7 separate regions of the Homo sapiens genome follow, and regions 1, 2, 3, 4, 5 and 7 are each linked to region 6. The links are contacts of gene promoters, found by promoter capture Hi-C in blood cells and fetal thymus (Javierre and others, 2016). All regions are on one chromosome and are shown on one strand. The core of a region is centred on a gene start or on the middle of the fragment in contact, and the rest is flanking DNA. Distances in the headings are between cores, read along the strand shown. Region 1 overlaps DOP1A (DOP1 leucine zipper like protein A). Region 2 overlaps UBE3D (ubiquitin protein ligase E3D). Region 3 overlaps DOP1A (DOP1 leucine zipper like protein A). Region 4 overlaps DOP1A (DOP1 leucine zipper like protein A). Region 5 overlaps RWDD2A (RWD domain containing 2A). Region 6 holds the start of SNHG5 (small nucleolar RNA host gene 5). Region 7 overlaps DOP1A (DOP1 leucine zipper like protein A).

Region 1 (3,154 bases), core at 572-3,071, 2.6 Mb before region 6:
TATTTTGCATGTTCTCTCTTTATCCATTGTATATTTCTTATATATTATGGCACTTGAGACAGAAATTAGTAAAAAACATAAATATTTACAGCAATAAAATGAAATCATAAAGTATGTAATTTCTTCAAATTATATACAGATGTTTTAGCAGGTGTCTTCTCACCATTTTTTAAACATGAAAAATTTAAAATATAAGAATAACTTGAATTATATAAATGGTCTTGAGAGGTGTTTTAGCTGTTATGGTAACAGATGAAGCTCAGGAATTTTTTTAAGGAAATCTGTAATAGCAAGAAAATTTAGCCTTATGCATTTTAGTATTATTTAAATTAATAGCAGTAATTACAAGTAGCTTTTGTTGAATACTTATTATATTCTAGAAACTATGCTACCCATCTTACAAATATTTTTTCTAACCCTTAACAGTCCTGTAAATTTTGGTATTATCCTCATTCTGGATGAGGAAACTAAAGCTCAAAGAAGTTAAATAACTTGTCTAATGTAACAGAACTATTAACTGGCAAAACCAATTTCTCTGATTCTGTAATTTCTATTGTGTCAACCTGCACTTTAAATATTTGTTCAGTTATGTAATATCTTATATTACCTTCTCAAAGAAGTGTGAATTTAGCTTAGCTTCTGAAGAAATACTATTTTAAAAATACTTGTTTTTAAAACATTGTTTCATTGGGCCAATTTTCAGATAAGCATGATTTGCTCATGCTGATTAATTACTGTCTTTAATTTGAATATTAATTTTAGGACCTGTAATTCTAGAAGATGTCCTGATTGAAGTGTTTAGAACATTATATTCTCAATGCAAAGCAGAGTTGGATCTTCAAACTGAACCACCCTTCAGCAAGGATCATGCTCAGTTAAGCAGGTGGATTATCAAAAAATTAAATGTGACATGAAGACATAATATGTATTCACTTAATATAAACTTGAAGTGTAATAACTTGGGATCCTACTCTATGAAGTTTGTGTTCTAATAAGTAAAGCTGATTTAATACTAGTAAAGCTGATTTAATACTGACATACTAGTTGTATTGACAGTGCCTCACTATATAAAGACAATTGTTTTAATTGTTACAAAAGACAGGAGGAGGAAATAGGTAATAGGCTAAAGGGTTGCCACTTGAAATAACAAAGTTCTTTTTCCCTGATGCAATTTCAGTAATAGTGGCTATTAACAGCACTAGTTGGTTTTGTTGTTGTTGTTTTTCAAACTAAGAATAATAATTTGATTGAAACTGGTCAAGGTAAACCTTTCTTAAGAAAATCCTGAATAGCACAGGGAAGCAGACAAAATTCTTCACAATCAAGGCTGTGAAAATCAAATCACTACTCAGTTTGTATGTGCCAAGGGAAATAAAAGAATTTTGCCAAATTTACAGTCCCACACACTAAATAGTTCAAAAAGAAATTCTTGTTCTTTTGTCTTTTTTATTATGCAGAAACTGTGCAAGTCTCATTTCTGATCTTGATGTTTGACAAAAATTCAAATTTGAAAAAATAACTGCCCATAAAATGATAGGAGAGTGGCAGTAGATAAAAATTATTTGTTGCAATCTTCTTACTAGCACATTTTCTAGCAACTACCTAGGAATATGTACTGGCACTGCACTCAAATTTAAATTTGAAAAAACAAATGTTAATATTTTTTAGTTTTTGTTTTCTTTTCTCTTTTTTCAGTAAATTAAGAGAAAATAAGAAAACAGCAGAGCTGATTAAAACTGCTAACCTTCTCTTTAATTCCTTCGAACCTTATTATATGTGGGATTATGTTGCACGCTGGTTTGAAGAATGTTGTAGGTATGTTAAACTTTCATTCCTTTTAATTTCGTAACATCTAAAGCTAACCTTTGGGTTTTTTTTAAGTTGTTACATTTAATGAATGTTCTTTTATACATTCTATTACTAATAATAACTGTTACTTACTATCCATAATCTGACTCTACCTTGTCACATAGGATATAAAATCATTGATCATATAATCTTAGAATTGGAAGGGAGTTTAGAGATCAGTTATTCATACACCAGAGTAGATTAAAAATTTTCCGTCTTCAGTCTATAGTAATCCAGTTTTTTTGTTGTAGAAAAGATAGCAAATTTTTGGCTGCTGCCTCAGCACACTTTTCCAAAAGGATTTCCACTTTGATTAACAAAAAACTTTTTGGCCTGACTTGTGTTTTTAAAGCCATTAGAACTAATCCATGCTGTCACTGGGAAGTGATAAAAGCCTTCTACCCCTTAGCAAATAAAGCAAAAAATATGGTCTGAAAACCCTAGGATACTAGTGAATCTGAGTGGAATCTCTGTCTGGCTTCTAGACCAGATCCTCTCAACCAGATTAACCACTCAAGGCCCAGGAGCATGTAGTCAAAATGTAATTATGTACGATTTCAGCATTAGAAGTCTTTTAATAAAAAATGTTAATTGTTGCTCCTACACATTAATCTCTTTAGTGGTTTAGAAAGTTCCTAGCTTATTCAGCAGAGGTTGAGCACCCAGTTAAAAAGCATCATGCTAGGCAGATAGACAGTCCCTGTCTTCAAAGATCTTATAGTGGGAACAAATAAGACATGCACGCGTATATTCCTAGTATTAAAAATTACAAATGTCTTAATAGATTAAAATGTAGGAATCGTATTTTTTTGCCGCCTGGCCCTACCCTGGGTTTTTACCTTCTACATTCACAAATGCACACATCCACACTTCTTCAGCCAACCTGGACTATTCTCTGAAAGTTAGCAGCATTTTAACTTTCATTCTGCTGAGGCTTCACTTGTGCTATTCCTTCTGAAATACTCTTTCCCCTTGCCTATCTGCTAAAATCCTATGTAGAGGTTACCCACCTTTCCTTCCTTTCCTCAAATAGCCTATCAGAATCAATGCCTCCACACTGTCACATTGTTGCTTTTATTTGTCTACATGCTTATATTCTTGTTGGTCAGGGACTATATTATATTCTTACTTTGTGTCTTCAGAGTGGAGGGCAATGTATGGTCATATAGGATTTCTATGATTTAATGTGAATGTTTGTTGGAGGAATGATCTCTACTACTTGGATCAGAAGAGGCTTCCTGGAGGAGGTAACATTTGATCTCAGACTTTGAAGGACAGATGCATTCTGATCATGGGAAAATGAGAT
Region 2 (3,168 bases), core at 390-2,889, 2.6 Mb before region 6:
TGAACACAAACAATATGCAAATCAGCACATAGCAGTCAATTTATTTTGTCCTATAGTTTAAACAATGTTTGCAGATTTAAATTTTTAAAAATAATTCCAGTTTTGATATTTGTATATTCAGTTACAGAATACAGAATATGGATGGGCAAAAACCCAATACTATGTCCCTGGTGGTCTCTATTCCTCCATCTCTAAAATCACAATCCCAGAAAACACTCCACTGTGGCTTTCATGCTTGCCTTTCCCAAATCTCAGAACCCAACACAAAATTCCTGCTGTGGTTACTCTTGTGAAAGAGGTAACTGTTGTGAAGGAGAAGGTGATGACAACACAACATCCAGCCTCCCATGGCCTCTTCCCTGAAACAACACTTTCTCTGCCCATTATTAGGTGCAATCAGGGAGTCTACTTCCCAGCTCGGTGACCCTAACCTTCTTGCTATGGTTATTCCAACAGTCATTCCTAGTATTTATCCTACAACATTTAAGTGCCATGACATCTCTTTTCCCTACCCTTTGTTCCTAAAACTAACCCTGCCCAACTCAAACTAGTTATTCACTAACCCAGGACTTGAGCAAAAATTGCTCTCCAGTAAAAAAGAAATGAAACCCTCTCTATCTTCTCTTTCCTCACAAAAGCCAAGAGCACAGACTCAGGGGAATACTCAACATCTCCTAAATGGCTCTTCCAAACACTCCTCCTGACCCCATCTCCAGGATCCACACAGCGCAGATGAAAGGTTTATTACAGATGAGGCAGCAGCGAAGTGTCAGTGTGCAGCTGAAAGAATTACAATCTTTCTCTGATAATAAACATCACATAAGTCTTTTACAGCCTATTTCCCCCTTTGACATAATTTTAATCCCCCAAAGCATATATTACGTACATTGTAATAGATGTAATGAACCAATAATTTTATACAATAAATAACCCTGAGGTCTTAGAAAAAGCAAATTTTCCACTGCCTTACCGAATCATTATACCAGTTACAAAATGTTGTAAATATAACAGGCATAGTAAAAGTTAAAATCAAATTAAGTATCAAACTCAACTGTAGGACCTTTTGTGTACTGTTTTCTCTATTTGGAACAGTCCCCACATGGATAGGATTTCCTTATTCAGGACTCAGGTCAAACATTACCTCCTCAGAGTGGCCTTCACTGATCATCCTTCAGCCAACCCTAGTCACTCCCTATCCCATTATTCTGTTTTATATTATCATAACACTTTTCTTAATATTTAAATTGTTTGCTCATTATCTGCTCCCACCAATTAGAATGTAAGCTCCATGAGAGCAGACACCTCCCCTACCTTGTTCACTCTGTATCCCCAGAACCTAGATTGATGCCTAGCACATAGCACAAACCAAAATATTTGTTGAATGAATAAATTTCCATGTAATGCTTTAAAATCAATCAGGTCTTATACAACTGCCATCTGATTTAATCTTCCCATCTGTGAGCCAGAAAATTTTACAATTAAAGAAACAAGGCAGTGGGTAAATGGGAAATCTCTATACTTTCTGCTCAATTTTGCTGTGGGTGGAAAAGAAAGAAGGAAGGGAGGGAGGGAAGAAGCCTCAGAAAGGTTAAGTAACATGTTCAATTGCATACAGCCAATAACTGGCAGAGCTGACAAAGACCCTAGAGCTTCTCAACCCCTTCACCTGGGAAAAGTTCAACTTATCAAAGGAAAAATCACCTTTGGTTTATAACAAAAAGGTAAATACAGCAGCAGAAGTGCTAATATTACTCACTTGTGCCTAATTTTGCTTGCGTCTGCAGTCGCAGGTGCAGTCCATCTCCAACAACAAACTGTAGCCCACGGCAAGAGGAAGGTACAAGCCTGACCTCTGCTGGAAGCTGGATTTCTGTGCAGCCTTCAGGGGTTTTCATCTGGAGTGAAGATGGCATTATGGAAATATTCATGGGCATACCTCCTTCTTTCGGTTCTCTGGTAATTAAAAACAAAACCCAAACAAATTATTTCTCACAATGAAAACCACATGATGAAAGAAACAAAAATGGCCAAGGATCTCTTTCTTCCTCTTCAATAGGAGCTCTAAAGTCACTGCCCCAGAAAAACAGCAGCAAGCAGATCATAAAGGAAAGCAACCTACACTAGATTTAGATCTGATCAGAGTGCCCTTCACCATCACCATAATATGCAAGTCCTGGGACAGATTTTTGGTTCTTCCTTCTGAGAAGAGCACTAAAATAATGTTTTATAGTAAATCAGAGCAAAGTACTGTTATTTCATATACAAGATTTTAATAAAGAGACCAAGATTCAGTGAAACAATGATACAAGACAAAAACCTGTCAATTTTAAGAATAAAAAGAATTAATGAAGAAAACGATACAGTGATGTATGAATATCAGGTGTGAAAGGACTTACTAATCCAATTCAGAGCAAACACAAATTACTCAGTATAGGCAATAAAGAGTAAAACACAGTCCCTGTCAAAAGCCCCCAGGCATCAAAAGTATAGAGGGGATAAAGGCATCTATGGAAATGACCCTCCTCTGAAACTGCAATACGCTTAGCAATGCAACAGAGGTACAAAGTACCATGGCTCCCTCTTAAGTGCAGACAGCAGGTCATCCACATGGTGTCAACTAAGTGCAGACAGCAAGCCATTTGCTTGAGTGTCATCTGAGTACAGAGGGTAGACCATGTGCTCAGGTGTGGATCTTGGTTAGGCCTTAGAAATCTGCCTTAGAAAATCTTATAGCTACTTTCTGGCTAGTTCCTTTTCAAAGCATATGGATCTGCACTTAGTTAGCAATACAGAATATTAAGCATCTGAGTTTTTTGCAGGGATGACAGTTTCAAACCTGAGTCAAAAGTTCAATTTCAAGAAATGGTGTTTAAGAAATAATGATCCTCTAAAACAAGAGTCAGCAACTTTATTTCTGTGAAAGACCAGATAGTAAATATTTTAGGCTTTATGAGCCATGTATGGTCTCAAAGTAGAATACATATTATACTTTTTATTTTTTAAAAAACAACCCTTAAAAAATGTAAAATCAGCAGGTCGAGGTAGCTCACTCCTCTAATCCTAGCACTTTGGGAGGCTGAGGTGGGAGGATGGTTTGAGCCAAGAAGTTTGAGACCAGCCTGGGCAACAAAGCAAGGCTCTGGCTCTACAAAAAAATAAAAAATAAAA
Region 3 (2,743 bases), core at 140-2,639, 2.6 Mb before region 6:
TTGAAACAGAAGGAATAAAAGGGTGGCTCTCAAAAAATGCATTTAAAAATTATTGCAAAGCTATAGTAATCAAAATAGTATGGTACTGGCCAAAACAGACATATAGATCAATGAAATTGAATGGAGAGCCCCGAAATAAACACTAGTTTATACGGTCCAACAGTGTTTGACAAGGGTGCCAAGACGACTCAGTCAGGAAAGGATAGCCTCTTCACCAGATAGTGTTGGGAAAAACTGATATCCCTATGTGAAAAAATGAAGTTGTATATCTTATACCATACACAAAGATTAACACAAAATGGATTAAAGACCTAAAGATAAGACCTAAAACTATAAAGCTCCTAGAAGAAAACATAGGAGAAAAGCTTTATGACATTGAGTTTGGCAGTTTCTTGGATATGACAGCAAAAGCACAGACAATAAAAGCAAAAATAAAAAATAGGATTGTATTAATCTTAAAACTTTCTGTGCATCAGAGAGTACAAGAGAGTGAAAAAGCAAACTATGGAAAGGGAGAAAATATTCATAAATCATGTGTTTGATAAGAGGCTAATACCCAGAATATATAAAGAAAGAGCTACTCTTACAGTTCAATAACAACAAAGTAACTGAATTTTAAAATGGGCCAAGGACTTAAATAGACATTTTTCCAAAGATGATATATAAATGGCCAGCAAACATATGAAAAGATATTGAGGCCGGGTGTGGTGGCTCAGGCCTGTAATCCCAGCACTTTGGGAGGCCGAGGTGGGTGGATGATGAGGTCAGGAGATTGAGACCATCCTGGCCAACATGGTGAAACCCGGTCTCTACTAAAATACAAAAAATTAGCTGGGCGTGGTGGTGCACACCTGTAGTCCCAGCTATTCAGGAGGCTGAGGCAAGGGAATCGCTTGGACCTGGGAGGTTGAGCCAAGATCGCACCACTGCACTCCCGCCTGGAGGCAGAGCAGACTCCATCTCAAAAGAAAAAAAAATGTTGAAGATCACTAATCATTAGATAAATACAAATCAAAACCACAAAGAGATACCTAACCTTACACCCATTATGATGGCTACTATTAAAAAAAAAATAGTTTTGGCAAGGATGTAGGGAAATTAGAAACTTCTTGGGCACTGTTGGTAGAGATGTAAAATGGTTCAGCCCCTGTGGAACACAGTATGGCCATTCCTCAAAAAAAGTTTAAAAAATTACTCTCTAAATGCAGCAATCCCGCTTTTGGATATATCCAAAAGAGTTGAAAGCAGGATCTGGAAGAGGAATTTGCACACCCATGTTGATAGCAGCACTACTCGTGATAATCAAGAGGTAGAAACAACCTATGTGTGCATCTATGGATTAATGGATAAGCAAAATACAGTATCTACATAGAATGAAATATTACTAAGCCTTAAAAAAGGAAATTCTGACACATGCTATAACATGGATGAATCTTGAGGACATTATGCTGAGTGAAATAAGCCAGTTATAATAAAAAGACCCATACAATATGGTTCCCCTTACATGAGGTATCTAAAGTAGTCAAATTCATAAAAGCAGAAAATAGAATTGTTGTTTAATGGGTATAGAGTTGCAGTTTGCAAGATGAAAAGTTCTGGAGATTGGTTGCACAATAATGTGAATGTACTTAACACTACTGAACTGTACACTCAGTGGTTAAGATGGTAAATTTTGGCCAGGCTCAGTGGCTCATTCCTGTAATCCCAACACTTTGGAAGGCCAAGGCCAGAGGATTGCTTGAGCCCAGTTGTTCAAAACCAGCCTGGGCAACATAGCAAGACCCCTTAAAAAAAAGATGGTAAATGTTATATGCTTTAAAAACAATTTAAAAAGGACTATAGGCTGGGCACAGTGGCTCATACCTGTAATCCCAGCACTTTGGGAGGCCAGGGCAGGAGGATCGTTTGAGGCCACAAGTTCAAGACCAACCTGGGCAAGAAAGTAAGACCCTGTCTACAAAAAAAAATTTTTTTTTTTTAATTAGCTAGGCATGTTGGCACCCACCTGTAATCCTGGCTACTCAGGAGGCTAAGGCAAGAGGATTGCTTGAGCCCAGGAGTTAGAGACGTCAGTGAGCCATGATTGTGCCACTGCATTCCAGACTGGGTGATAGAATGAGACCTTGTCTCAAAAAAATAAAAAGGACTTTAAACTTCTAGAAACATGAAGCATATGTACATTTTTTACATTTTATACTGTCATGTAAGCCATGTTTCTAAATCAGGGGTGTCCAAACTTTTGGCCTCCCTGGGCCACATTGGAAGAAGAATTGTCTCAGGCCACACATAAAATACACTAACACTTAACTATAGCTGATAAGCTAAAAAGGTCCATGCATAAATCTCTTAATGTTTTAAGAAAGTTTACGAATTTCTTGGGCCACATTCAAAACTGTTCTGGGCTGTGGGTTGGACAAGCTTATTCTGAATATTGAAAAAGATACTGATTTAAAAATTAGGTCAAAGGGGTTGAATCACTAGGTATCATGCAGAGACATAGCATTTTGAGTTTGAGTATAATTTAATAGAAAATTAAATTCTATCCACAAAATTAATAGCATGTGTAAAGGCACTGAGATGGGAGGGAGCAAGTCTTGAACAGTGGACAATTGCCTAGGTTTTGCTTAGCTGGGACAGAAGTGTGAATAAGATTGAAGGAATGGGTCTATTTTATGAAGGCTTTATATGGCTAACAGCTTGCATTTCATGTCTAAGAAAATGAATATCACAATTATAGCAGTAA
Region 4 (2,804 bases), core at 24-2,523, 2.5 Mb before region 6:
CACCTGGATTCAGAAAGCTGTAGTGGATCAGACTGGCAGCAAACCACCAAACAATGACCATGACCATTTTTTGGAGCAAGTTTGGCTTTGGGAAGTGCTTTGGAGCTTCTTTCAGTCCAGCCACTGAGCTGGTCATCGCCAGTTGTCGTATAAAATCCACCTTTTGGCACACATCACAATCCGATAGAGAAATGATTCATTATTGTTGCATAGAATAGAGAAAATGACACTTCAAAACAACGAATTTTTTTATTTTTCACTCAGCTCATGAGGCACCCATTTATTGAGCTTTTTCACCTTTTCAATTTGCTTCAAATGCCGAACGACCATAAAATGGTCAACATTGAGTTCTTGGGCAGCTCTCTTATAGTTGTAAGAGGATCAGCTTCGATGATGTTCTCAATTGGTCATTATCAATTTCCGATGACTGGCCACTGCACTCCTCATCTTCAAGGCTCTAGTCTCCTTTGCAAAACTTCTTGAGCCATCACGGCACTGTATGTTCATTAGCAGTTCCTGGGCCAAATGCATTGTTGATGTTGTGTGTTGTCTCTGCTGCTTTATAACCTATTTTGAACTCAGAAAATCGCTAAATTTGATTTTTGTCTAACATCATTTCCATAGTCTAAAATAAATATAAACAGCAATAAGTCATTAGCAAAAAAAAAGTGAGAAATATGCTTAAAATGATGTATAACATAACCACATTTATTTAAGAATGTACTCCAATATAAAACGGCAAATTTCAACAATGCAAAAACCGCAATTACGTTTGCACCAACCTAATATTTTCCTTTTTCAGGATTTTACTTTAAAATAAGCAATAAGCTTGAGAGCACATAGAAGAAAATAAGCTGGATTTTGCATCTGCTTGACCCACTAGGAAACTAGTGATATTAAATTATTAGGTAAACAATGAAAGTTTCTGAGCAACATCTGATCTTAGAAGGCAAACTCCATTTGTTAATATGACAGATTGTAATTCTGCTTCCTAAGTCTTCATGATTTCTTCCTTCTGTCTAGTTCATTGCTTATTTTCATTCTTTAGTGTGGAATTGTATCTGTGATTCTGCCCAAGTTCAACCAACCTGTTCTCTCTTATCTTTCTCTAGACAGAATGATGTCTGTAGCTGTGTTTGTGTAATTCAGGTGGCTTCTCAAACTAGCCTCTTAATACCCAAATTATTAGTCTTTATATTTAGTTGACAGAGTTTTCACATACCTTCTCATTTGACTTCTCTACTAAAAGGTAGTTTTAGACTGTCCCATTTTATAAGTGAGGAACCTTTGTATATCCTGCCCAAGGGTGCCGTAAGTATGGCAGAGCCAGCACACTAACTCAATTCCTTTGACTCCAGGTCCAGCTTTCCTCCCTATGTTGTTTAGCACAACCCAGAAGGAGACAGCAGTGTCTCCTGAGGGATCCCTTCCTTTCTCTGTGATGCAGTACTGACAGTAATTATTCACTTTGGACACTGCTACCATCATGGCAAATTTAGGCCATTTAGATAAAAGGGAATTAACTAATTATAATAAAAGGGGATATATTATGAAATGTATAAAGCACTTTGTTCCTTTTTTCTGTAGTAATTTTGTGACCTAGTCCTTGGTTACAGTAGTGAGGGTTCAGAAACCTGGGAGCTTTTTGAGTAAATACAAAGCACAACATAAAACTTTTATGTTTGACTCTATTCCTGTTCAAAGCTATTTCTGTTAACTAAGCTTATCTGCGCATTCTAGTTGGGAACTATTACTACAATGTTAGACTGCTCCATGTAAAACTAATAAATGGCAGTAAAAGGTCTCAGAAGCACCAAGGGTTTTGATCAGGTCAGGAGTTAGAAACTTAATGTCATTTGTATTCATTTCTTGACCAATTGCCAAAGTTTATATATTTTTAATTTTTCTAACATACCACATTGTCTGTTGTATTAATACCAGTTCACTTTTTGTTTTCTGCAGAAAAATCCAGAGGAAGACAACTCAGGGAGAACATTGGGTTGGGAGCCAGGGCACTTGCTGCTCACCATCTGCACCGTGCGCAGTATGGAGCAGCTCCTGCCGTTCTTCAATGTGCTCAGTCAAGTCTTCAACAGCAAAGTCACAAGCCGATGTGGAGGACACTCAGGGAGTCCTATCCTCTACTCAAATGCCTTCCCTAATAAGGACATGAAACTGGAGAACCACAAACCATGTTCCAGCAAAGCCAGGCAAAAAATAGAAGAGATGGTAGAAAAAGATTTTCTGGAAGGGATGATAAAAACTTGAGCACCATTGCTGGTTCCATTTAGCTTACATGTAAATGTAATTATTTAAAACACACACACTGCTCTGCGTTGTATAGTTTTTCCTTTTTTGTATGTAACAGAACACATTTCAGATTGTATTTAATTTAAATATTTGTATATAAGAGCAAATGTCTGAATGTGGCCTGAATCAAGTTTAAATATTGTTGGCTCATACTGATTATGGTGCCTAAGAGAGCTATATATATACACATGTAAAGTCCATTGTTTTTATTGTCCTGAGTTGTCTTAAACCTGCAAAATATACACTACCCATTTTTTTTTTCCATTGGTTTCAGACTTGGTTCAATTAAGATTGGTTGGGGATTTTTCTCTTTTCCTTATTAACCATGTTCTGGTATCAGAATGGTGTTCCTTCTCCATCAGAGGCTGGGAAACGTATTATAATTAGTTTTTCTCCCACATACCTTCACCAAGAGCAGTGAAGAATAACTGAAGGCTGGACCATGCATCCTTAAAAGTATTGCATGAGCATCTCCACCTCAGTATGGAAGAGGG
Region 5 (2,977 bases), core at 137-2,636, 2.5 Mb before region 6:
CTTCACTAGGCCCTGGACTTCATGAAGGGCAAAAATAGTGTCTGGTTTATTCACTTTTTTATCCCAGCACAAGGGCACCTGGCACACGTAGTTGTTCAATAAATATTGAAATAATGCATAAAAGGAAGCAATCATGTATGTAAAGTACCTGGTACATTTAATAGTAGCAATAACATTTCTCAAAATCATGCAGTTGCTATTGATAAACTAGCTTATGTGATGTTATGGTATTTAAATCTATTTGATTTTCATTTTAAGGTGAAAATTGATTTGCAAGTGACCATGCCTCACAGCTACCCCTATGTAGCATTGCAGCTGTTTGGACGGTCATCTGAACTTGACAGACATCAGCAGCTACTTCTCAACAAAGGTCTCACTTCTTACATAGGGACTTTTGATCCAGGTGAGCTCTGTGTATGTGCAGCAATCCAGTGGCTACAGGACAACAGTGCATCTTATTTCCTGAACAGAAAGCTTGTATATGAACCATCTACACAAGCAAAGCCAGTCAAGAACACATTCCTCCGAATGTGGATCTACAGTCACCATATATATCAGCAGGACCTAAGGAAAAAGATTTTGGATGTTGGGAAAAGGTTAGATGTGACTGGATTTTGCATGACAGGAAAGCCTGGTATAATCTGTGTGGAGGGTTTCAAAGAGCACTGTGAGGAGTTCTGGCACACAATTAGGTACCCCAATTGGAAGCACATTTCCTGTAAGCATGCTGAAAGCGTGGAGACAGAAGGAAATGGTGAGGACCTGCGCCTTTTCCATTCTTTTGAAGAGTTACTCCTTGAGGCTCATGGTGACTATGGATTAAGGAATGACTATCACATGAATCTGGGCCAATTCTTAGAATTTCTCAAGAAGCACAAAAGTGAGCATGTTTTTCAGATACTATTTGGTATTGAAAGCAAAAGTTCAGACTCATAAAAAGCGATTAAGAGGCCTATGCCTGTAATTTCACTAAGTCAGTATTTCTGTTAATAAGACCAAATTAAAAAGGCTAGTGGCTGTGTAGCATCCTCAGTGCAAAACCCAGCTCCAGAATTTTCACCTGGTAACGAATTTCAACTGACAGTGAAATGAATAGGCCTTTAAACTTTATAACATTGCAATTGTGATGTTATCTCTAGGTTTTTGTGTGAAGTCATTCAAAAACTATTTCATTGTAAATTAATAAAAACAATCCATTTAACTTGTGAAGCTGATTTGATTGAAGAGGAATCCAAAGCCCATAACTAACATCAAAAATCAAACTGCAATTATGAATTGAGAAATATGAATAGCATTTGTTTCACATTGCTAGCACACATGTGACACACCCACTTGTCTTTCATTATTGGAAATCTAAATCAAGTTTAAAATGAGAACAGGAAGGACATGTTTACTTCCTTTTTTGAGACGGTGCGATCTCGGCTCACTGCATCCTCAGCTTCCCAGGTTCAAGCGATTCTCCTGCCTCAGCCTCCCAAGTAGCTGGGACTACAGGCGTGCGCCACCACGCCCAGCTAATTGTTATATTTTTAGTAGAGACAGGGTTTCATCATGTTGGCTAGGATGGTCTCAATCTCTTAACCTCGTGATCTGCCTGCCTCGGCCTTCCAAAGTGCTGGGATTACAGGTGTGAGCCACCGCGCCCAGCCCGTTTACTTCATTTCTTACTTTAAACTCCTATTTCGAGTGTTTTAGTAAAACTAGATCCTAATAGCAGTGGCAAAGGACTCATAGACATGAAGTCCCACGAGTTAAAAGATGACACACAATGCTATGTGTTCTGGCTGTTTATATCAGTTCATGATACTAGCAATCCTGATACCAGTATTAGTTTAATTCTTATCCAGAAAAGATAAACACATGGTTCCTTGTCTACAAAGTATTCGCCTGTTTCAATCCAACCTTTGCCTGTGTGCCAGTATGCATTACTATAAAGGGCAAGAGACTGTTGAGGGGACCAGTGTGGATATCTGCATCATTACCTTATTGGGAAAAAAAAAATCTAATTCTACAGTCCGATGATGTTACTGCCATCTCCTCTGAAAATTCCAAGCTCCACAGGCTTCACCAGGCTTTTCAAAATGAGAGTTTATTTTAATGATTAAAAACCGCTATTTAAGTAGCTCTTGCCAAGCCTTTTCATTACCAGGTCTCCATCCCTCCCCAAGTATTTCTGCGAGTCTCATGTGCTAAGAGATGTCTTGAGCAGCCTCTGCAGCTTTCCGTGTTTCTGTGGTCAGCTACTGCTGCCCTTTCCCGGGAGGCATTCCATTCTCCTACTGGGTCCTCTCAAGATGCCAAAGCTTGGTGCTGGGATTTAGGAACACATCCTGTTAGATGTCAGACAGTGCTGCTTGTGCTGGGGAGCCTACAGAACTTCTGATGAAACTACCATCTGGTTTTACCCTCTGTGCCGTGGATGCAGACGTGTCCTTGGGCTACAGAGAGGACATGATGGAGCAGGAGGCCCTATCCCAAGGAGGTGTTAGAACTGGGTCCACTTTGTACTGCCTCTTTCTTCTTAGGTCACAATGAGTGTCCTCTCAGGGCACAACTCAGATCTTCAACCCATGGCTCGCTGTAGGCCTGCCCCGCCAGGTCCTCCAGCTTGCCATTCATGTTTCCATCCTAGCCTTGGTTGTGCTGGAACTCAGGCTGGAGCCTGACACTTTGCCTATATGCAAAGGGAAGAAATAGGACTTACATTGCCAAGGAATCACTTCTTAATGTTTGCCAGCACTAAAAACAACAAAGTATAGGAATCTTTTTCCCCCACAGTCTCCACAAAGCTATCAATAAGTATAATTCGCATTTACAAGTTTTAGGCCTTCAACAGATGTAACTCCATCCAAATGAATCAATATGTGCCATCAACCTACCTTATAGAGGTGTTTTTCCTGATTACATGAGCAAAAGTAGCTACAGAAAGATGGGTGTAAAGAAAAGGCAATAAATTCTAGGTTATGAACTCTACTGC
Region 6 (2,995 bases), core at 375-2,874:
TTTGTAAAACGAAGAGCTTTTTTCTGGATGGTTTTCTTATCAGCTTTTCACACAACAGTCAAGTAAACCTCGTGGCACTAGCCCTAGAAAAGGAAAAACACGAGATTCTTACAAGACTACAAACATTACAACATATGTAAAAGCATTAAAAGTATTAAAAAAAAATATTGTCCTTATAACGGTCCATCTCAGAAGCCAGATCCGTAAAAGTTTTTTTTTTTCAACAGAAGTTCAGGTTCGGGATAAGATCATCACAGATAAGACCAAGGACACAATATTCACTGATCTCTAAGCAAACAGAAAAACTCCACTTACAGAAATCGTTGCAACTTTGGAACTTCCAAGACAATCTGGCCTCTATCAATGGGCAGACAGCGACCCTCACTGTTGGCAGAAAAAAAAAAAACCCAGGATTTTATAACACAACTGTTATAAAATCACGGCAACAAAATTTACTCCACCTCTGAATTACTGGTCTTAATCTCAGAAGCCGAATCCGTACTTATTTTTCTTCAGGTTATCAGCTTCGGGATAGGTTTCATCATTGATTAGACCAATCAGACCTTGTATATGTACACATAATACATTAAACTGCACTTCTGTGACACTGACTACAAACCAAGGTAATGCTAAAAGGCAAGTATTATAGTACAAATACTACAGAACTTTTAAGCCATACAACCTACTTCAAAATGAAGCTGCTAGTCAGTCACATTCGACATTCATTATCTTCACTGGCTACTCGTCCACACTCAGAACGCTGTTCACTGACAAAAAAAATTTGATTTAGTCTAGGTGTGGATTAAATGCTATGCTCAATCATAAAGTACTAAAACAACACATACCTGTTAAAAGTGTCAGGTTTTAACCAAGCGATTTTCCATTAAATATTCTCCCAGATGTTCTGGAAGTTTTTTCGTGTATCTAACAAAAAAAAGTAAATTTCAAACGATGCAACAGTTCCTATTCCTGTAAATCAACAGGTTTACTCCTTTAGTTTGGAAACTAAGCTTAACTAAGCTCTTACCTTTGCATCTTCAGAGCTGCTCCACTGTGCCACTGAAGACAGCGCCATTGTTCCTGCGGGAAATCGGTATTTAAGCATTCTCGCAGAAATGTCACACTCCAAGGCGTTTTTCCACACAAAACCCTTCCCCTTCATTAATCCGAATTGCACACAACGCCGCCTTCGAACAGCTCAGTTTCAATACAGGGTCGAGGCTTCCCATTTTAAAACAACGCCGACGGAAGGCCTTCGCCATTTTAGTAAAGGCCCTTTGCTGTTAAAACTAACCCTCCGCCCCAATTAAGGTGGTTTTTCCGCCGCCGCTCAGGCACATGCCGGAGGCCAGCAAGTTCGGCGCCCGTGGCCGATCAGCGGTTCCTCACGCCAAAACTCGGAGCCTGTGGCCGTCACGACTCAACCTCAGTACATGTGGCAGTCCGGCCGCACGTTTCCCACGTGCAAGCTTTCAACTCTCAGCACTCTAAACTCTTCACTAAGATGTCTTCACAGGATTAAAGCTCTTAACTCGGCCTGCGCCACCATCTTTTGCTCGGATACTAGCCCGCAATACCCACTCACCTACCACCCGCCCAGACGCTCGCGAAGGCCGACGTAAAAGACCGAAGTGCGCAGCCAGTAGCTCCTTATATAGCCTCCCGGAGTCAGAACGAGGCCGTCCCGCCCTCTCGCACCTATTGGACATGGAAGTAGACAGGGGTGTGGTCGCGAATTAGCGGGAGCGCGCGCGGTGGCTCTTCTGAGGCCCGTTCCGCGTTGTGGAGCGCGCCGCAGGCCGGCCGCGCGCCCGGCCATTTCCCGGCGCGCGCCCGCAGGCGCACTGCGAAGCGTCTCTTACGAGTCTGGCGGCCGACTTGGCCCTACGTGGCGCGGGTGTGGCGCCAGAATTCAAACAGCTGCAGTTGGAAACGACGCTTTCGCCTGCCACGAGCCAAGTCCGTCCAGGACAGATTGGGTCCGAGAGTGGACACAAGTTTTGCAGCGCAGGGCGGCCTCAGCTTAGGACCGATTCGAGAAGCTGGGCTGGCTGGCTGGCTGGCGCTGGGCTGTAGTGGGCCCCCAGCGGAGGCCGCCGGAGGAGCGGGCGAGCCCTGGCCGCAGCACTCCGGGAAAGGGCAGTTGGCTGGCAGAAACGCTTGGGTGAAAAAGCGGAAAGCGCCACGTGAGAACAGCCCCGGCGTGCGGCCCTGCAGGGCCTCAGGGCGGGCATCAAGGCCCCATGGGGATCCATTCCTCCTCACGCTTCCTCGTGCCAGGCATCCGGTTACACTAAACGTGACCATACAAGTCTCCCTCAAACAGCGAACGTGAGGTTCAATACTCCATTTCGCAGAGGAGAAAACTGAGGCTTAAAACAGCCAGGTAATTTGCCTAAGGTCACACAGCTGAAATGCTTTGCTAATTTTTAACTTCTTTGTACTCAATTAGTTATATTGAAAACGAGAGAAAGATTAATTTGAGAAGTATCCCTGAATACTTTATCCAGACGACAAACACAAAATTCAAAAGCAGTGCTTTGATTAATTAGCATGTTCGAGTGAATATGTCTGCGTGTGTGTGTGTGCACACGACATTTGAACATTTCAGTATTTGAAAATTCAGGTCGTTCTTCACTTCTATATTTCAAAGCACTACTTATTAAAGTTGTTTATGTGTGCATTTGATTACGGTCCGATTCTGCTAGAGTGTGGGAGCAACACATCTGATTTCGTGCTCTGCTGTTTATTTTTTCTTAGAACAGTGCCTAGCATTAAGTAGGTTGTCGGTAATGGTTAAATGAATGAATGAATGAACAAATACATTCGGTGGCTTTTTAGAAAATTAGAATGAAGATCAAACTTCACATTCAAAGATAGTAGTGAAAAGCACTTTTCTCTAACAGGAACCTATATGATGAAGTATTGACTGGGCCGGGCATTTTGTCGGTTTTTGTATTACTTTGTAATGTCTTACATAAATTTGCATATTGCT
Region 7 (3,210 bases), core at 76-2,575, 2.5 Mb before region 6:
TTCAAAGGTAAGATTACTGATATTGATCTGTCCTTACTATGTTGCTAGAAACAGAGAAACATTATTTATGGATATATTAATATAAGTAATGAGTGTCTTAACGACCCAGCCATGTATATCCTACAAACCTAAAGACCTAAGGATATTGAAGATTCCTAGATAGTAAAACACTGAATTGTGATAAAATCATTTAAACATAAATGAAAAGTTGAACCTACTCTCGAAACTATGCATATTGCCACTGAATCCATTATTTTGGTATAGGTGAACATACAGTAATTCATTCTGCTTTTTTAATGTTAGGAATGATTACATGAAATATCTTCTTACTATCATATTCCATTTTGCGTTTAACTGACCTGTGAACAGAAGTTATGATTTGAGTTTTTATAACTTCTTACTCAAGAACCTGACTCTTCATCCTCCTTTATAAGATAATTCCATTTTATTCACCAAACTCAGCCTCCATTTGTAATCTATGACTAGCATTATAAGGTCAGGCTATTGAGTGTATTTAAACTGGTTGTGACCTAGAGCAAGCACTGCCTAAAATCTGAACTTATATACAGAGAGGTGTTAGGGTTAAGGTCAGACTGAAACAAAGATAGTCTTCATTATTTTTACAGGTTAAAGACTAATGTTCAGTTGACAGCCCTCCATAATATGAGGTAGAGACGTACAAGGTGAAGGAAAAAGAACTAAGAGGGAAATGGAGAGACCAGGCTAGGGAGTACATGACTGTGGTATCAGTAGTTAAACTGAGAATTACTGCAGTTGTATTTTACTTTTGAGATCCCATGTGATAAATGGGATTTCAATAGAAAAATTTCTAGATTAAGAAATTGCAGGCTAGGGGCGGTGACTCTCGCCTGTAATCTCAGCACTTTGGGAGGCCGAGGCGGGCGGATCACGAACTCAGGAGATCAAGACCATACTGGCCAACATGGTGAAACCCTGTCTCTACTAAAAATACAAAAATTAGCTGGGCATGGCAGCGCACGCCTGTAGTCCCAGCTACTCAGGAGGCTGAGGCAGGAGAGAATTGCTTGAACCGGGGAGGTGGAGGCTGCGGTGAGCCGAGATCGCGCTACTGTGCTCCAGCCTGGGCAACAGAGTGAGACTCCATCTCAAAAAAAAAGACAAAAAAAGAAAAAAGAAATTGCACTGGGGCCAGATGCAGTGGCTCATGCCCATAATCCCAACACTTTGGGAGGCCAAAGCAGGTGGATCGCTTGATCCCAGAAGTTTGAGACCAGCCTGGGCAACATGGTGAAATTCCATCTCTGTTTTAAAAAAAAGAAAGAAATTGCATTGATATTTCAACTGTGTTGGTTTACTAATTAACGTTAGTAAAAATGTAAAGTTTTTAGGAATTTTGTTCTATCATTGTCTATAAAAATTTAGAGAATGTTCCACAAACTAGTAGAAAACCATAGTTTATTGTGGCTTTTGTATAAACTATATTATCTTGCAGAATTCCAGTGCCCAATTTAGTGGATAGCTGGGCGTCACTGTTGATACTTCTGAAAGACTCTATACAACTGAGTCTTCCAGCTCCAGGGCAGTTTCTTATACTTGGGTAAGCAATTTCACTTAATATTATTTCAAATAAAAGGATAATGTTAATTGTCCTAGTTGCCAAGTATTAGTAATAGATATTTTAGGTGACAGTGATCTCTCTACCTTCTCATAGTGTTCTTGAGATGCAAAACTAGATGTATAAGGCCTGTTTAAGAAAAAAAAAAGTGGGAGGCAGGGTGAGAGGAGGAAACAGTCTATGTTTATACATATACAAAATGTAACTACACTAACATAAAACTGTTACAACAGTAGCTGTTTCCGTGGTGGTGGAGAGTATGGAATGGAAAGGGGAGGGGGTGATGTAGCATGGCTGAAGGGGAACTTCACAGAGGAGGGACACTTGAGCTGGGCCCCAAACCTAAACAGCCTGGGAAAATTTTTCTCTTTGTGTCTTGAAGTTTTCTGATTTATCTTAGTGATTTATATGATTATTTGATAAATGTTAGTCACCTATGACTGCAAGTACTGGGATGTCATAGTCAGTCTCTCTTTCTTGCTTGCCATTATTCTTGATTCCTAATAGGTCCCCAGTAAATACTTGGTAAGTGAATAGAGGTGGTGGGCACAGAAAGCCTTTGTGAAACAGGAAGGGGAAGGGTATTCTGGGGCAAAGTACCTTGTCTGATTTGGTAATAGAGCAGGGCACAGGCAGTGGTATAGTGGAAAATAAGACTGAATGAAAAGGGAGATGGGAGCTAGATGGGGCAGGATCTTGAATTTTATTTTAAAGAATGTGGTCTTGAAAGGGAGTGGGAGCGGTTGCAGGTTTTTGAGGAGAGACATGACTGGCATGTTAGTAGTAGTAGGCTAGATCAGAGGGGAAAGAGGCTAGACTAGGAATTCTATTTCAAGTGGGAAGTGTGGGGATGGTTTCAACTATTGATGGGATTGAAAGAACAGGATAAAGAAGGAGAAGGGGCCAGCAAAGGAGATAGAAAGGGAAGTATCAAAAAGAAGAAAACCAGGCATTTGATTGTCCAGAACCAAAGGGAGGTTAAGAGAGCATGGTTAACACCTACAGAGAGGTTAAGGAAGGTGAGGAATAATAAAAGGCTATGTTTGTTGACAATCTGGACAGGCATCCTAATTGTCCAATCACCAGTTATCTGATGATTTTGGAGAGAGGGTTTGGAGAGGTAGCAGCACAGATGTGTTAACAGCAAATGCTTAGTGTGGGAAAGTAAGTGTTGATTCTTCTTTGAGGATATTTGATCATGAAAAGAAAGAAGCCACATGCGGTGGCTCATGCCTGCAATCCCAGCACTTTGGGATGCTGAAGCAAGAGGACTGCTTGAGCCCAGAGTTTGAGACCAGCCTAGGCAACATAGGGAGACTGTGTCTCTACAAAAAATTTAAAAATTAGCCAGGCATAGTCACACGTGCCTGTAGTCCCAGCTACACAGGAGTTGTCATAAGGTTCAGAGAGGGAATGTATGTACAGGTGTTGGAATCATCACCAAATAACCCTGCTGGCTAATTTCATCAAAAAATTAAGTTCATTTGTTGTGATCTGTAGCTGTTCCCCTTTCCTTACATGCCTTTTCTTCCTTTCAGAATGAAGGATCCTCTTCCTTTTCAACATGTGCATATTCTGAATGTTAAAACAAAAAGTTGAAAGTTGAACATTTT

Evidence for each region. Contacts are between HindIII fragments. The CHiCAGO score rates a contact against its expected background, and 5 or more counts as called.
Region 1: a contact is called between a fragment that was not itself captured here and the fragment with the promoter of SNHG5 in region 6, in 2 of 17 cell types (neutrophils and activated CD4 T cells). The highest score is 5.1, in neutrophils.
Region 2: a contact is called between a fragment that was not itself captured here and the fragment with the promoter of SNHG5 in region 6, in 1 of 17 cell types (naive CD8 T cells). The highest score is 5.5, in naive CD8 T cells.
Region 3: a contact is called between a fragment that was not itself captured here and the fragment with the promoter of SNHG5 in region 6, in 4 of 17 cell types (neutrophils, naive B cells, total CD4 T cells and 1 more). The highest score is 9.8, in neutrophils.
Region 4: a fragment that was not itself captured here is called in contact with the fragment with the promoter of SNHG5 in region 6 in 3 of 17 cell types (naive CD8 T cells, total CD4 T cells and naive B cells); the score reaches 9.3 in naive CD8 T cells.
Region 5: a contact is called between a fragment that was not itself captured here and the fragment with the promoter of SNHG5 in region 6, in 4 of 17 cell types (non-activated CD4 T cells, total CD8 T cells, naive B cells and 1 more). The highest score is 10.9, in non-activated CD4 T cells.
Region 7: a contact is called between a fragment that was not itself captured here and the fragment with the promoter of SNHG5 in region 6, in 1 of 17 cell types (neutrophils). The highest score is 5.6, in neutrophils.

What each region holds. Positions count from the first base shown.
Region 1 is chr6:83,121,168-83,124,321 of GRCh38, forward strand. DOP1A (DOP1 leucine zipper like protein A) reads left to right here. Exons shown (of 39, transcript NM_015018.4): 11 at 763-883; 12 at 1,696-1,815. Among named protein-coding and RNA genes, the nearest start is that of DOP1A, 55 kb to the left of the region's middle. The HindIII fragment of the contact is 3,912 bases long and covers 1-3,154 here.
Region 2 is chr6:83,056,070-83,059,237 of GRCh38, forward strand. It overlaps UBE3D (ubiquitin protein ligase E3D), which reads right to left. Exons shown (of 10, transcript NM_198920.3): 2 at 1,757-1,953. Among named protein-coding and RNA genes, the nearest start is that of UBE3D, 8.2 kb to the right of the region's middle. The HindIII fragment of the contact is 7,857 bases long and covers 1-3,168 here.
Region 3 is chr6:83,075,546-83,078,288 of GRCh38, forward strand. The region is part of intron 1 of DOP1A (DOP1 leucine zipper like protein A); the gene reads left to right. Among named protein-coding and RNA genes, the nearest start is that of DOP1A, 9.2 kb to the left of the region's middle. The HindIII fragment of the contact is 2,053 bases long and covers 364-2,416 here.
Region 4 is chr6:83,165,900-83,168,703 of GRCh38, forward strand. It overlaps DOP1A (DOP1 leucine zipper like protein A), which reads left to right. Exons shown (of 39, transcript NM_015018.4): 39 at 1,963-2,572. The coding sequence ends at 2,268. PGM3 (phosphoglucomutase 3) reads right to left here. Exons shown (of 13, transcript NM_015599.3): 13 at 1-2,804. Among named protein-coding and RNA genes, the nearest start is that of PGM3, 26 kb to the right of the region's middle. The HindIII fragment of the contact is 894 bases long and covers 827-1,720 here.
Region 5 is chr6:83,195,337-83,198,313 of GRCh38, forward strand. RWDD2A (RWD domain containing 2A) reads left to right here. Exons shown (of 3, transcript NM_033411.5): 3 at 259-2,977. The coding sequence ends at 936. Among named protein-coding and RNA genes, the nearest start is that of RWDD2A, 3.5 kb to the left of the region's middle. The HindIII fragment of the contact is 1,829 bases long and covers 473-2,301 here.
Region 6 is chr6:85,677,109-85,680,103 of GRCh38, forward strand. SNHG5 (small nucleolar RNA host gene 5) reads right to left here and starts at 1,625. Exons shown (of 6, transcript NR_003038.2): 1 at 1,586-1,625; 2 at 1,028-1,080; 3 at 846-924; 4 at 687-767; 5 at 316-384; 6 at 1-83. SNORD50B (small nucleolar RNA, C/D box 50B) reads right to left here and starts at 551; the gene lies at 481-551. SNORD50A (small nucleolar RNA, C/D box 50A) reads right to left here and starts at 260; the gene lies at 186-260. RefSeq lists enhancers at 1,206-1,265, 1,436-1,595. The HindIII fragment of the contact is 13,479 bases long and covers 1,468-2,995 here.
Region 7 is chr6:83,147,285-83,150,494 of GRCh38, forward strand. It overlaps DOP1A (DOP1 leucine zipper like protein A), which reads left to right. Exons shown (of 39, transcript NM_015018.4): 26 at 1-7; 27 at 1,475-1,579. It also overlaps a transcript of PGM3 not described here. Among named protein-coding and RNA genes, the nearest start is that of PGM3, 44 kb to the right of the region's middle. The HindIII fragment of the contact is 7,536 bases long and covers 1-3,210 here.